Regions from separate parts of the Homo sapiens genome. Here regions 1 and 2 are each linked to region 3. Evidence: promoter capture Hi-C in human tissues and cell types (Jung and others, 2019). All regions are on one chromosome and are shown on one strand. The core of a region is centred on a gene start or on the middle of the fragment in contact, and the rest is flanking DNA. Distances in the headings are between cores, read along the strand shown.

Region 1 (3,856 bases), core at 94-2,593, 480 kb after region 3:
TCCAGTCCTTGGGTTGGACACATCCCTCCTGGCCTTGGACAAGAGACACCCGCACAGCCTCTCTCCTTGTTACAAAGACCAATCTGGGATGTGCTGCAGGCCGAGGCTGGCCACCAGGTCCCTGAGGCCCGTGTTACCCCACGCACAGAGAAGGAGGCTGAAGTCTACCAGCTCCCTCTCCTCACCTGGGACCATCTCGCAGCAAGAAAAAAGGTGGTCAGATGGAAACAGGAAGCCAAGTCGAATGGATCTGAGACCGTCCCCCTGAGAAACAGCGGGGCTCAGAGAGGGTCTCTGAGGTTTTATCTGGCCCTTTTGGGCTGGGAGGCTGCCTGGGAAGCCACCGACTCCGTGGGAAGGGAGACCCGTGAACGCTGTGCGGGTAGCGGGAACATGTGGGTCTGTCACACTGGCCCGAGGCTGCAGCGGTGGTGGCTTGGCTGTGTTTGGGGAGGGTGGGGGACACATGGCAGCAATGTTGGAGCTGTGGACAGCTTCCTGTGATCAAAATATGATTCCTGAAGGTCAAGGTCACCAGAGCTTGGCCTGGGGCCTAGGGGTGCTGTGCGAGAAGTCGGACGGTGGCCCAGTGCTACCTTTCCATCATGGGCCATGGAAGTCTCCCAAGCCTGTCCCTGACAACTGGACACCAAATACACCCCTTCATGCTTTCTTCTCGGGTCTCTGCAGGGTGAGCTGGGTGCCCAGGGACAGGCTCGAGGGACTGGCATGTCTCTCTCTGGCCAAGCCTCCTTCCTCAGCTTTCTGGAAGGAGTGAATTGTGTCCAGGGACCAGAACTCTCAGTGGTGTCTGGAAAACACTACATCAGAGAGGAATTTCCTGGTCATTTCTCAATCCCTGGGCAATGTCCTCAGCCCCGGGGCCTGGAGCCCAGAATAGATCCCAGAGGCCACCCTGAGACAGCCCAGGCCAAGACCACCCCACTGAAGCCTGGTCAACTGTGCTCTTCAGGTCCCTCCTAGAGGCCCCCTACTACCCCGGGAGGCTCCAAGCCTAAGTGATGGTGACTCAGGAATTCCCCACCCAGGCCAGAGAGGGAGACACTGGGGGAGGGAGGAGACCTGTGTGTGGGGAGGTGGCAGGTGGCTCAGTGATGGGAACCAAGAGAGGATGTGGGGAGGAGAGTGGAGGCAGCGATGGGAGATGGATGTCCTGGATTGGGCGGGTGGACGGGGAGTGGGGAGTGTGCCAGGGGGCCCTCTGGAGAACAGTGAGGGAGGGCGGGGCAGAGAGAGGAAATGAAAAAGCTGGGGTGAGCAGGCAAGCTGAGGAGGGTGGGAAGGAGGGAGGGACGGAGGGAGGAGGGAAGGAGAAGCTGACACACAGACCGACACAGGCAGCGAGAGACACGAGGAGCAAAGCAAGTGAAGGCACAGACGCACGGGACAGGAGAGCCTGGGCAAGACTGGAGAGGTGCGGTGAGGGGCTGGGGATGCAGCAACACAGAGCAGGAGCAGGTAGAGGGTGTGGGGTTAGAGGGAGAAAGGTACGGGGAGGACAAGGACAAGGGAGGGGACAGAGACAGGGAGATATCAGCAAGAGACCGAGAGACAGGGAGGGAAAGAACTGGCAATGCCCGGATGTTCTCTGTCTCTTTAATGGCAGAAACAGAGCTAGAGAAGGAAAGAAACAGGAGGTGGTGGGGGGGTGGTGGGTGTCAGGCATGGTGGCTCACACCTGTAATCTCAGCACTTTGGGAAGCCAAGGTGGATGGATCACCTGAGGTCAGGAGTTCGAGACCAGCCTGACCAACATGGTGGAACCCCGTCTCTACTGAAAATACAAAAATTAGCTGGGCGTGGTAGTGGACGCCTGTAATCTCATCTACTCCAGAGGCTGGGGCAGGAGAATCGCTTGAACCCAGGAGGTGGAGGTTGCAGTGAGCCGAGATCATGCCATTGCTCTCCATCCTGGACAACAGAGTGAGACTCTGTCTCAAAAGAAACGAAAGAAAAGAAAGAGAGAAAGAGAAACAGGAAGGTGGGGAGAGACAGAGAGAGATACTGGAGAAGCCAGAGGGGAGAGGACTGCATACCCGCACACACAGGAGAACTGGGGGTTGGCTGGGAGGCCCCAGCTGCCAAAAGGACTGGCCAGCAGGGACATCTGAGTGGGCTGGGTGGTGGGGGTAGCCCTGGCTCCCTCTGACCCCCCACCTTGGGAACCCTCCAGCCCAGACCTGGGATGGCGGATTCGTGCAGGAACCTCACCTACGTGCGGGGCTCGGTGGGGCCGGCCACCAGCACCCTGATGTTCGTGGCCGGTGTGGTGGGCAACGGGCTGGCCCTGGGCATCCTGAGCGCACGGCGACCGGCGCGCCCCTCGGCCTTCGCGGTGCTGGTGACCGGACTGGCGGCCACCGACCTGCTGGGCACCAGCTTCCTGAGCCCGGCCGTGTTCGTGGCCTATGCGCGCAACAGCTCCCTGCTGGGCCTGGCCCGAGGCGGCCCCGCCCTGTGCGATGCCTTCGCCTTCGCCATGACCTTCTTCGGCCTGGCGTCCATGCTCATCCTCTTTGCCATGGCCGTGGAGCGCTGCCTGGCGCTGAGCCACCCCTACCTCTACGCGCAGCTGGACGGGCCCCGCTGCGCCCGCCTGGCGCTGCCAGCCATCTACGCCTTCTGCGTCCTCTTCTGCGCGCTGCCCCTGCTGGGCCTGGGCCAACACCAGCAGTACTGCCCCGGCAGCTGGTGCTTCCTCCGCATGCGCTGGGCCCAGCCGGGCGGCGCCGCCTTCTCGCTGGCCTACGCCGGCCTGGTGGCCCTGCTGGTGGCTGCCATCTTCCTCTGCAACGGCTCGGTCACCCTCAGCCTCTGCCGCATGTACCGCCAGCAGAAGCGCCACCAGGGCTCTCTGGGTCCACGGCCGCGCACCGGAGAGGACGAGGTGGACCACCTGATCCTGCTGGCCCTCATGACAGTGGTCATGGCCGTGTGCTCCCTGCCTCTCACGGTGAGTCCCCTCCGGAGCTGGGAGGAGTGGGGAGAGGAGGAGGGCAGCTCTGTGGGTTGTGCCCATGTCACAGATGGGGAGACTGAGGCTCAAAAGAGGTGAGACATCGTGGGCATGGTGGCTCACGCCTGTAATCCCAGCATGTAGAAAGGCCGAGGCAGGACCGGATGCGGTGGCTCACACCTGTAATCCCAGCACTTTGGGAGGCCGAGGCCGGCGGATCATTTGAGGTCAGGAGTTCGAGACCAGTCTGGCCAACATGATGAAACCCTGTCTCTACTAAAAATACAACAAATAAATAAATAAAAAGTAGCCGGACGTAGTGGCACATGCCTGAAGTCCCAGCTACTTGGGAGGCTGAGCCAGGAGAATCGCTTGAACCCCGGAGGCGGAGGTTGCAGTGAGCTGAGATCGTGCCACTGCACTATAGCCTGGGTGACAGAGTGAGACCCCGTCCCAAAAAAAAAAAAAAAAAAATAAGAAAAAAAAGAAAAAGAAAGGCGAGGCAGGACGATCACTTGAGCCCAGAGGTTTGAGACCAGCCTGGGCAACATGGTGAAACCCCATCTCTATGAAACATTTAAAAATTAGCCTGGCATGATGGCCTGTGCCTGTGGTCTCAGCTACTTGTGAGGCTGAGGTGGGAGGATTGCTCCGGCCTGGGAGGTTGAGGCTGCAGTGAGCTGTGATTATACCACTGCATCCCAGCCTAGCTGACAGAGCAAGACCTTGTCTCAAAACAAAAACAAAGAAAACAAAAACAAATCAGACAGAGGCTTGGTCCTCAGTCAGACAGCTCCTGGCTTTCTGGAGGGGTCTTTCTGCATCTGACTTCTTCTGATACCTTGTCTCCCAGCTTAGGCATCCTGAGCCCCCCATGAT
Region 2 (3,466 bases), core at 399-2,898, 500 kb after region 3:
ATCAAGGGGTCTCCCCAGAGGCACTCTCTGATCAAGCTCTGCAGCCCCCACCCCGAGGGCACGGGAATAGGCATCTGATTGTCACTGACGCCACACTGTACTGCACTGTCATTTGGCACAAGTGACGAGGTGCAGCATGGTGCGTGGGGCTGGGGATCATGAGAAAACCGGCGCTCCTGCTGGGAAAAGGCAGTGCTCTTGGCCTGAAAAGGGCAGCGACAGAGTGAGGCTTCTAGGCTTGAAAAAGCTGGCTCATTCGAGGCACCCCAAACTTTGATCTCCCATCCCCATTTCATGAGGCTTCAGTGCGCAATAGGGGCCCGAACAGCTCCGCCCACCTGCTCCCACTGCCCCGGTGTCTTCCACCCAGCCGCGTTCTTCCTGAGGAAGGAGGACGGTAGAAAAGCTTCCTCCGGGCCCTGCAGCCCACTCCCCATCCACACTGAGCCGTCTTTGTCCTGGCCTGTCCCTGGAGACTGGCAGGGTGCTACCCACATCCACCCCCAAACCTAGGCCCCCCTGACTGCCATTCATTTTCTCCTTCCACCTCACCTCCCAACCACCCAAGCCCAAGTCCTCCCCCACCCCTCACCTTGGAAATCCATCTTCTCTTGGACCCAAACACAACACTCCCACCCCGTTAAAAAAATTCTGTCTTTCTAGAGCAACAGTCTTAACCCACTAGTAACCTCGGAACCTTTTCTAGCTACTTCCAAATTAACCCCAAGGGTCCCTGTCCCCCGACTACTGGCGAGCCCCACTCTCACCATCCCTTTTCACCACCTCCACGACCCTGATCCTTCTCCGTCCCGGAAGCCTTCAAGAGTATCTTCTAATCTCCGCTGCCACCCACCCCAGGCTCTTCCTCCCATAAGCTTGCACCTCACCCTCCTCCTCCTCTGCAGTGCTGGGCTCTGGAGACCACCCTCCCCCACCCTCCCCCACCCTCGGGAGTCTCATCTGTAGAAGTGACCGCCCATCCTTGACCCTCTCCTCTGCTCCACAGGAGCCCAGGGGTCGCCCCTCCCCGCCCGGGCCCAGCTACCCTCCACCACCCCATCCAGGAGCAGCCCAGCCTCCCTTCGTCCCCCGTTCCCCGCATCCTCTCAGGACCAAACGCCTTCATCAGGGCCCGAATAGCTCCCCTCCCCAGCCCATCTTTCTTATTTCGTCCCCTGGGGTCCAAACACCTCCATCCTGAAACCCAACGCCCCATCCTGGGTCCAAAATCCTTTTGAGGGGTCCCACTGAGGGTCCCGATCCTCCATCCGGGGTTCAAATGTCCCCTTTAGGGGCTCAGATACCCATTTGTGGACTTAAACATCCCATTTGGTGCTAAAGTCGCTTCTGGAAACCTCTGGTGATCCAGACGTCCCGCTCTGGGTTCAACAGCCCCCGACAACGCGGGTAGAAAAGGGTCCCGAGGCTCTCGCCGGGCCCGGACGCCCCCCACTCTGGGCTCTGTCGCCCCCTCAGGGGTCCTGCCCCGTTAAGCCCGCCTCAGAGCCCGCAGCCTCGGCGACCCCCCAGCCTCACTCACCATGGCGAGGCCCGGGGTGTCCGGAGCACGGGGATCAAGGTTCCTCCGGCGGCGGCAGCAGCTGCAGCAGTTCCAGCTCCGCCGCGCGTCCGCGCCTCCACACTCACTGCCCGCAGCGCGCGCCGCCGCCGCCGCCGCCTCCCGCCCCAACGGTCCCTCAACGGCCGCCGCGCGCGCCCCGCCTCGCTCGGCCCCGCCCCACCCGGCCCGCGCGCCGCCGCACTGCGGCTCCCACGGATCCCTCCGCGCCCCGCTCCACACCTACGGGCCCGCGAATCTCTCGTCCCCACCCTGCACAGGAATTGGGTTTGCCGCCGGGCGCGCGCGCGCTCGCTCCCGTCGCCGGACTACTTTCCCTCGCCGCGCGCCCCGCCTCCCGGGCCCACTTCACTTTCTTCGGCGGAGGGGCACAGCTCGGCGGTGCGTGACGCGTCCCTCTGTGAGCCGCGTCACTATTGGGCCTGGCCCATGGCGGAAATGAGAGCTTGGCGCCCATTGGTCCGACCTTCCCTGCAATGCGTCAAACTGGGGCGAGCCACTGCAAGGTGGTGGTGGGTAAGTCTGAACTCTGTGGCCGCGTGGGGCTTTGAGGAGTAACGAGGCGAAGGGGGAAACGGCGTCGCCGTTAGAGAAGCAAATACGTCGTTTCTGTGGCCAGGAGGTGGTAAAAAGGCTGGCGACAAATGCAGAAGGGCTTTCTCGGCTCTCCCCTTTAACCGACGGACGATGGTTCAATCCAAAATGCTAGGGTTTAGAAGCTCCGCCCCTAACTGGGCCTTTGGAGGTGGCGGGGTCTCCAAGGTGCCACCTAACGCTCAGAGGTTCCGCCCTCCGTGGTCTTGTCTCTGCGTCCTAAGACGCACTCAGCCGGTGGGCGGGACCCCTGGGCCCGCTTCATTCTTGATCCGCTCAGGGTCTGTGAAATTAGGACCATCCCAGGACAGCCTGTGGGAACGGGGTATTCATTCAGTCATTCGTGCTATAAGCATCAATTAGGCGCCTGCTGTATGCAGGGACCTGAGCTTGGCTGGGCTGGGGAGACCATACTCCCCAACCAGCCTCTCCAGACAGACGACCTCTTTCCTTATTCCAGTGTTCCAGCCATAGGAGGAAAAAGAACTGAAACTTTGTTTATAGGAGCTCAGAAAATGATCACCCCTGCCCCCTCCCCCGTTTAGGATAGGAGCTGACAGTCTCCTGCGTGTCCCCTCCCCACCATGTTGATGGTTAAGAGATGGGCAAACGAGTCAGGCTGGACCAATCATTATGCTCCACCTGGAACAGAATGGAGACTGAACCAATGAGAGTCCTTCCCTGGGGTTTGGATCTGCAGCCTGGGCACAAGAAGCCTTTTCCTTTTGGGTGGGTCCTTCCCATAGATTCTGACTATGGTCATTTTCCCACTCTGCCCCCTATCTTGAGGAACAAAGTGTCTAGAGAAGAAGAGAAAAATAAAACTGACACAGTGGAGAGGTAAAGAAGATGGCCGGGCGCGGTGGCTCATGCCTTTAATCCTAACACTTGTTACTCAGTCTCAAATCTCATGTTAAAATGTGATCACCAATGTTGGAGGTGGGGCCTGGTGGGAGGTGTTTGGGTCATAGGGGTGGATCCCTCATGAATGACTTGGTGCTGTCCTCACGGTAACAAGTGAGTTCTTATTCTGTTAGTTCACACAAGATCTGTATTTTTTTTGAGACGGAGTCTTGCTCTGTCACATAGGCTAGAGTGCAGTGGCATGATCTTGGCTCACTACAACCTCCGCCTCCCAGGTTTAAGCGATTCTCCTGCCTCAGCCTCCCAAGTAGTTGGGACTACAGGCACCCACCACTACACTTGGCTAATTTTTGTATTTTTAGTAAAGACAGGGTTTCACCATGTTGGCCAGGCTGGTCTCAAACTCTTGAGCTCAAGTGATCCGCCTGC
Region 3 (3,806 bases), core at 256-2,755:
GAGAGCTGAGATTGATACTTCATATAGAATATGCACTGAGCATGTACCCAATCTGTACCTGGCCCTGTGCTGGGCCCTTGGAAATGTGGGGTTACTGTGAACCTCATTCTTGTCTGCCCTTAAGGAACCCACAGGTGACTAGAAATTAACGAATAGGTTGTATCAGTTCTTTTTAAGAAATTATTATTATTATTATTTTAGACAGAGTCTTACTCTGTCACGTAGGCTGGAGTGCAATGGCATGATCTCAGCTCACTGCAACCTCTGCCTCCTGGGTTCAAGCGATTCTCCTGCCTCAGCCTCCTGAGTAGTTGGGATTACAGGTGTGCGCCACCACACCCAGCTAATTTTTGTGTTTTTAGTAGAGATGGGGTTTTACCATGTTGGCCAGGCTGGTCTTGAACTACTGACCTCAGGTGATCCACCTGTCTTGGCCTCCCAAAGTGCTGGGATTACAGGCGTGAGCCACTGCGCCTGGCTAAGAAATTCTTTAGGTGGTATATGAACAAATCTCAAGAATCTTAGGCCCAGATCTCTTATTTATTTGTTTATTTTTATTTTTACATATTTTTTAAGACGGAGTCTCGCTCTTTCACCCAGGCCGGAGTGCAGTGGCACGATTTCAGCTCACTGCAAGCTCTGCCTCCCGGGTTCATGCCATTCTCCTGCCTCAGCCTCCTGAGTAGCTGGGACTACAGGCGCCTGCCACCACGCCTGGCTTATTTTTTTGTAGTTTTTTTTTTTTTTTTTTTTTAGTAGAGACGGGGTTTCACCATGTTAGCCCAGATGGTCTAAATCTCCTGACCTCGTGATCCGCCCGCCTCGTCCTCCCAAAGTGCTGGGATTACAGGCATGAGCCACTGTGCCCGGCCAACGGGCTGATTTTTATATTTTTAGTGGAGACAGGGTTTTACCATGTTGGCCAGGCTGGTCTCGAACTCCTGATCTCAAGTGATCTGCCTGCCTTGTCCTCCCAAAGTAATGAGATTACAGGTATGAGCCACTGCGCCCGGCCTGAAACCCTGTCTCTACAAAAAATACAAAAATTAGCTGGGCATGGTGGTGCATGCTTGTAGTCCCATCTACTTGGGAGGCTGACGTGGGAAGATTGCTTGAGCCCAGGAGATCAAGGCTGCATTGAACCAATGATCACACCACTGCACTCCAGCCTGGGTGACAGAGCAAGACCCTGTGTAGAAATAAATAAATAAATAATTATAAACAAAGAGAAGTCTTAGTTCATAAGTTAAATTATTAGACTTTCTCCTCTGGAGTGATAGAAATCGGTCCTCTGATGAAAACCATGATCTTTGCAGCTTTAAACCATCTGAAGCTTAGTTGGCATGAGAAGGTGGTTAGAAAACTCTTCATTGCTGAGAAGCAAATTCCAGAGGTTCATCTGCCAGGAGTAACTTGGATCTGAGGGATAGATACCTTTGCTCAAGAATGCAAATTTTCAGAGCTCGTGGGAGTGGAAGAATAGATACTCAGGCAAAAAAAATGGCATCTTTGTCTCCACAAGCTTCCTTTTAGCAGGCTGGGTTTTTTCACGGTCAGCCTGTTTGAAGCTTTACAGAAATGTTCTGCCTAAGTGGTTTGCATGCTTGGACAAACCCCAGAGTGGACACTGCACACTTGGGGGCGAAGGCATTCGTTTCATATTAGGGGACTTTGGAATTTCACTCCCTGGGATTTTTGTATTGCTTTCTCTTTGTGTTGGGATGAGTCCTATTTTTTTTTTTTTTTTGCCAGAATTCCTTCGGTCTTTCCATGAGCCCTTATTCTCTATCCAGATGTCTTTGGTTAGGTTTTTGAAATGCTACCATTTCCTTCACTTGATATTGGAAGGACCGTATCGGCCTTGTGTCTTTGTGTTTGGGTAGGTTTTACTCCTAAGCATTTATTCTGGGCAAGGTTCCTGCTAAGTGCTTGTGTTACATGGCCTCATGGGATTCTCCCATGACACCATCCTGGGGACTCCATGGTTGCCTGTGCTGCACAGTTATGGAGACTGGGGTGCAGAGTGTTTAAGGAATTTGCCCAAAGTCTTGGTACCTCATTCTGGCATTTCTTGGAATACTGATTCATGAAGTCTGTTTTATGTATGTATATCTTATTTTTCCCTACTCGATTATACATTTCAGGGTGGGCGTTGTTTTGTCAGTTGACCTGTTTAGCAAATTACTCTTTTTGACATAATTTGTAGTTGTCAAATAATTTGTAGAGGTTAAGAGCTGGTCTTTGCATCCAAAAGTACTGGACTTAGTTTCTAGTTCTGCTTCTTCCTGCTGTGACCCCATGGGCAAATTCCTTCTTGTCTCTGAGCCTGTTTAGGCCTTGGTGAGGAGTGTGGAGGCCTGCAAGCCCAGATTCCAGCTCTCTGCTGGGAAATTATTAAATAACTGCTTGGGGACCTTGCAGCCTCTCCTCACATTGCTGAGTTGTCCCACTTGGAAGTTCTTGTTTTCTTTTTCTTTTTTTTTGAGACGAAGTCTCAATCTGTCACCCAGGCTGGAGTGCAATGGCATGGTCTCAGCTTACTGCAACCTCCACCTCATGGGTTCAAGCAATTCTCCTGCCTCAGTCTCCCAAGTAGCTGGGACTACAGGCGTGTGCCACCATGCCCGGCTAATTTTTTTTTTTTTTTTCGAGACAGAGTCTTGCTCTGTTGCCCAGGCTGGAGTGCAGTGGTGCGATCGCTCATTGCAACCTCTGCCTCCCAGGTTCAAGTGATTCTCCTGCCTCAGCCTCCTGAGTAGCTGGGATTACAGTCGTGCGCCACCACGCCCAGCTAATTTTTGTATTTTTAGTAGAGATGGGGTTTCTCCACGTTGGTCAGGCTGGTCTCGAACTCCTGATCTAGTGATCCGCCCGCCTCAGCCTCCCAAAGTGCTGGGATTACTGGCATGAGCCACCGTACCTGGCCAGAACTTTTTTCTTTCTTAACTTTTTATTATGGAAAAAAAATTTTTTTTAGTTATTTATAGAGGCTGGGTGCAATGGCTCATGCCTCTAATCCCAGAACTTTGGGAGGCCAAGGCAGGAGAAGGCCAAGGCAGGCTTTAGTCCAAGAGTTCAAGACCAGCCTGGGCAACATAGAGAGACCCTGTCTTTAAATTATTTGTGGAGACGGGGTCTAACTGTGTTGCCCAGGCTGGTCTCTAACTCCTGGGCTCAAGCAGTCTGACAGGGTCTCACTCTGTTGCCCAGGCTGGAGGGCAGTGGTGCAATCATAGCTCACTGCAGCCTCGACCTCCTGGCTGAATCGATCCTCTCGCCTTAGCCTCTTGAGTAGCTGGGACTACAAGCACATGCTGCCAGGCTAAGTTTTGTATTTATTGTAGAGATGGGGTTTCCTCATGTTGCCCAGGCTGGTCTCAAATTCCAGGGCTCAAGTGATCCGCCTGTTGGCCTCCCAAAATGCTGGGATTACAGGCATGAGCCACTGTGTCTGGCCTATACCTGTAGATTCTTCAGTATGAATCTCTAACTTTATGATTATTTAAAAACATAACTACAGGCCGCGTGTGTTGGCTCACACCTGTAATCCCAGCACTTTGGGAGGCTGAGGCAGGCGGATCACCTGAGGTCAGGAGTTCGAGACCAGCCTGGCCAACATGGCGAAACCCTGTTTCTACTAAAAATACAAAAATTATCTGGACGCGGTGGCAGGTGTCAGTAATCCCAGTACTCAGGAGGCTGAGGAATGAGAATCACTTGAACCCAGGAGGCGAAGGTTGCAGTGAGCCGAAATCACGCCACTGCACTCCAGCCTGGGCGACAGAGTAAGATCCCCGTCTCAAAAG

What was found. The method cuts DNA at HindIII sites, captures the fragments that hold promoters and counts their contacts. A contact is called where the count stands out against the background at its distance.
Region 1: the fragment with the promoter of PTGIR here is called in contact with a fragment that was not itself captured in region 3 in 3 of the 25 tissues and cell types used here (dorsolateral prefrontal cortex, spleen and stomach).
Region 2: a contact is called between the fragment with the promoter of CALM3 here and a fragment that was not itself captured in region 3, in 1 of the 25 tissues and cell types used here (bladder).

The regions. Positions count from the first base shown.
Region 1 is chr19:46,622,576-46,626,431 of GRCh38, reverse strand. PTGIR (prostaglandin I2 receptor) reads left to right here and starts at 1,343. Exons shown (of 3, transcript NM_000960.4): 1 at 1,343-1,435; 2 at 2,195-2,974. The coding sequence starts at 2,207. RefSeq lists an enhancer at 628-1,128. The HindIII fragment of the contact is 28,599 bases long and covers 1-3,856 here.
Region 2 is chr19:46,599,512-46,602,977 of GRCh38, reverse strand. CALM3 (calmodulin 3) reads right to left here and starts at 1,648. Exons shown (of 6, transcript NM_005184.4): 1 at 1,541-1,648. The coding sequence starts at 1,543. It also overlaps the pseudogene PPP5D1P. RefSeq lists enhancers at 86-155, 1,884-2,383 and a silencer at 1,614-1,753. The HindIII fragment of the contact is 7,591 bases long and covers 642-3,466 here.
Region 3 is chr19:47,100,711-47,104,516 of GRCh38, reverse strand. The region is part of intron 2 of ZC3H4 (zinc finger CCCH-type containing 4); the gene reads left to right. Among named protein-coding and RNA genes, the nearest start is that of ZC3H4, 11 kb to the left of the region's middle. The HindIII fragment of the contact is 3,344 bases long and covers 1-3,177 here.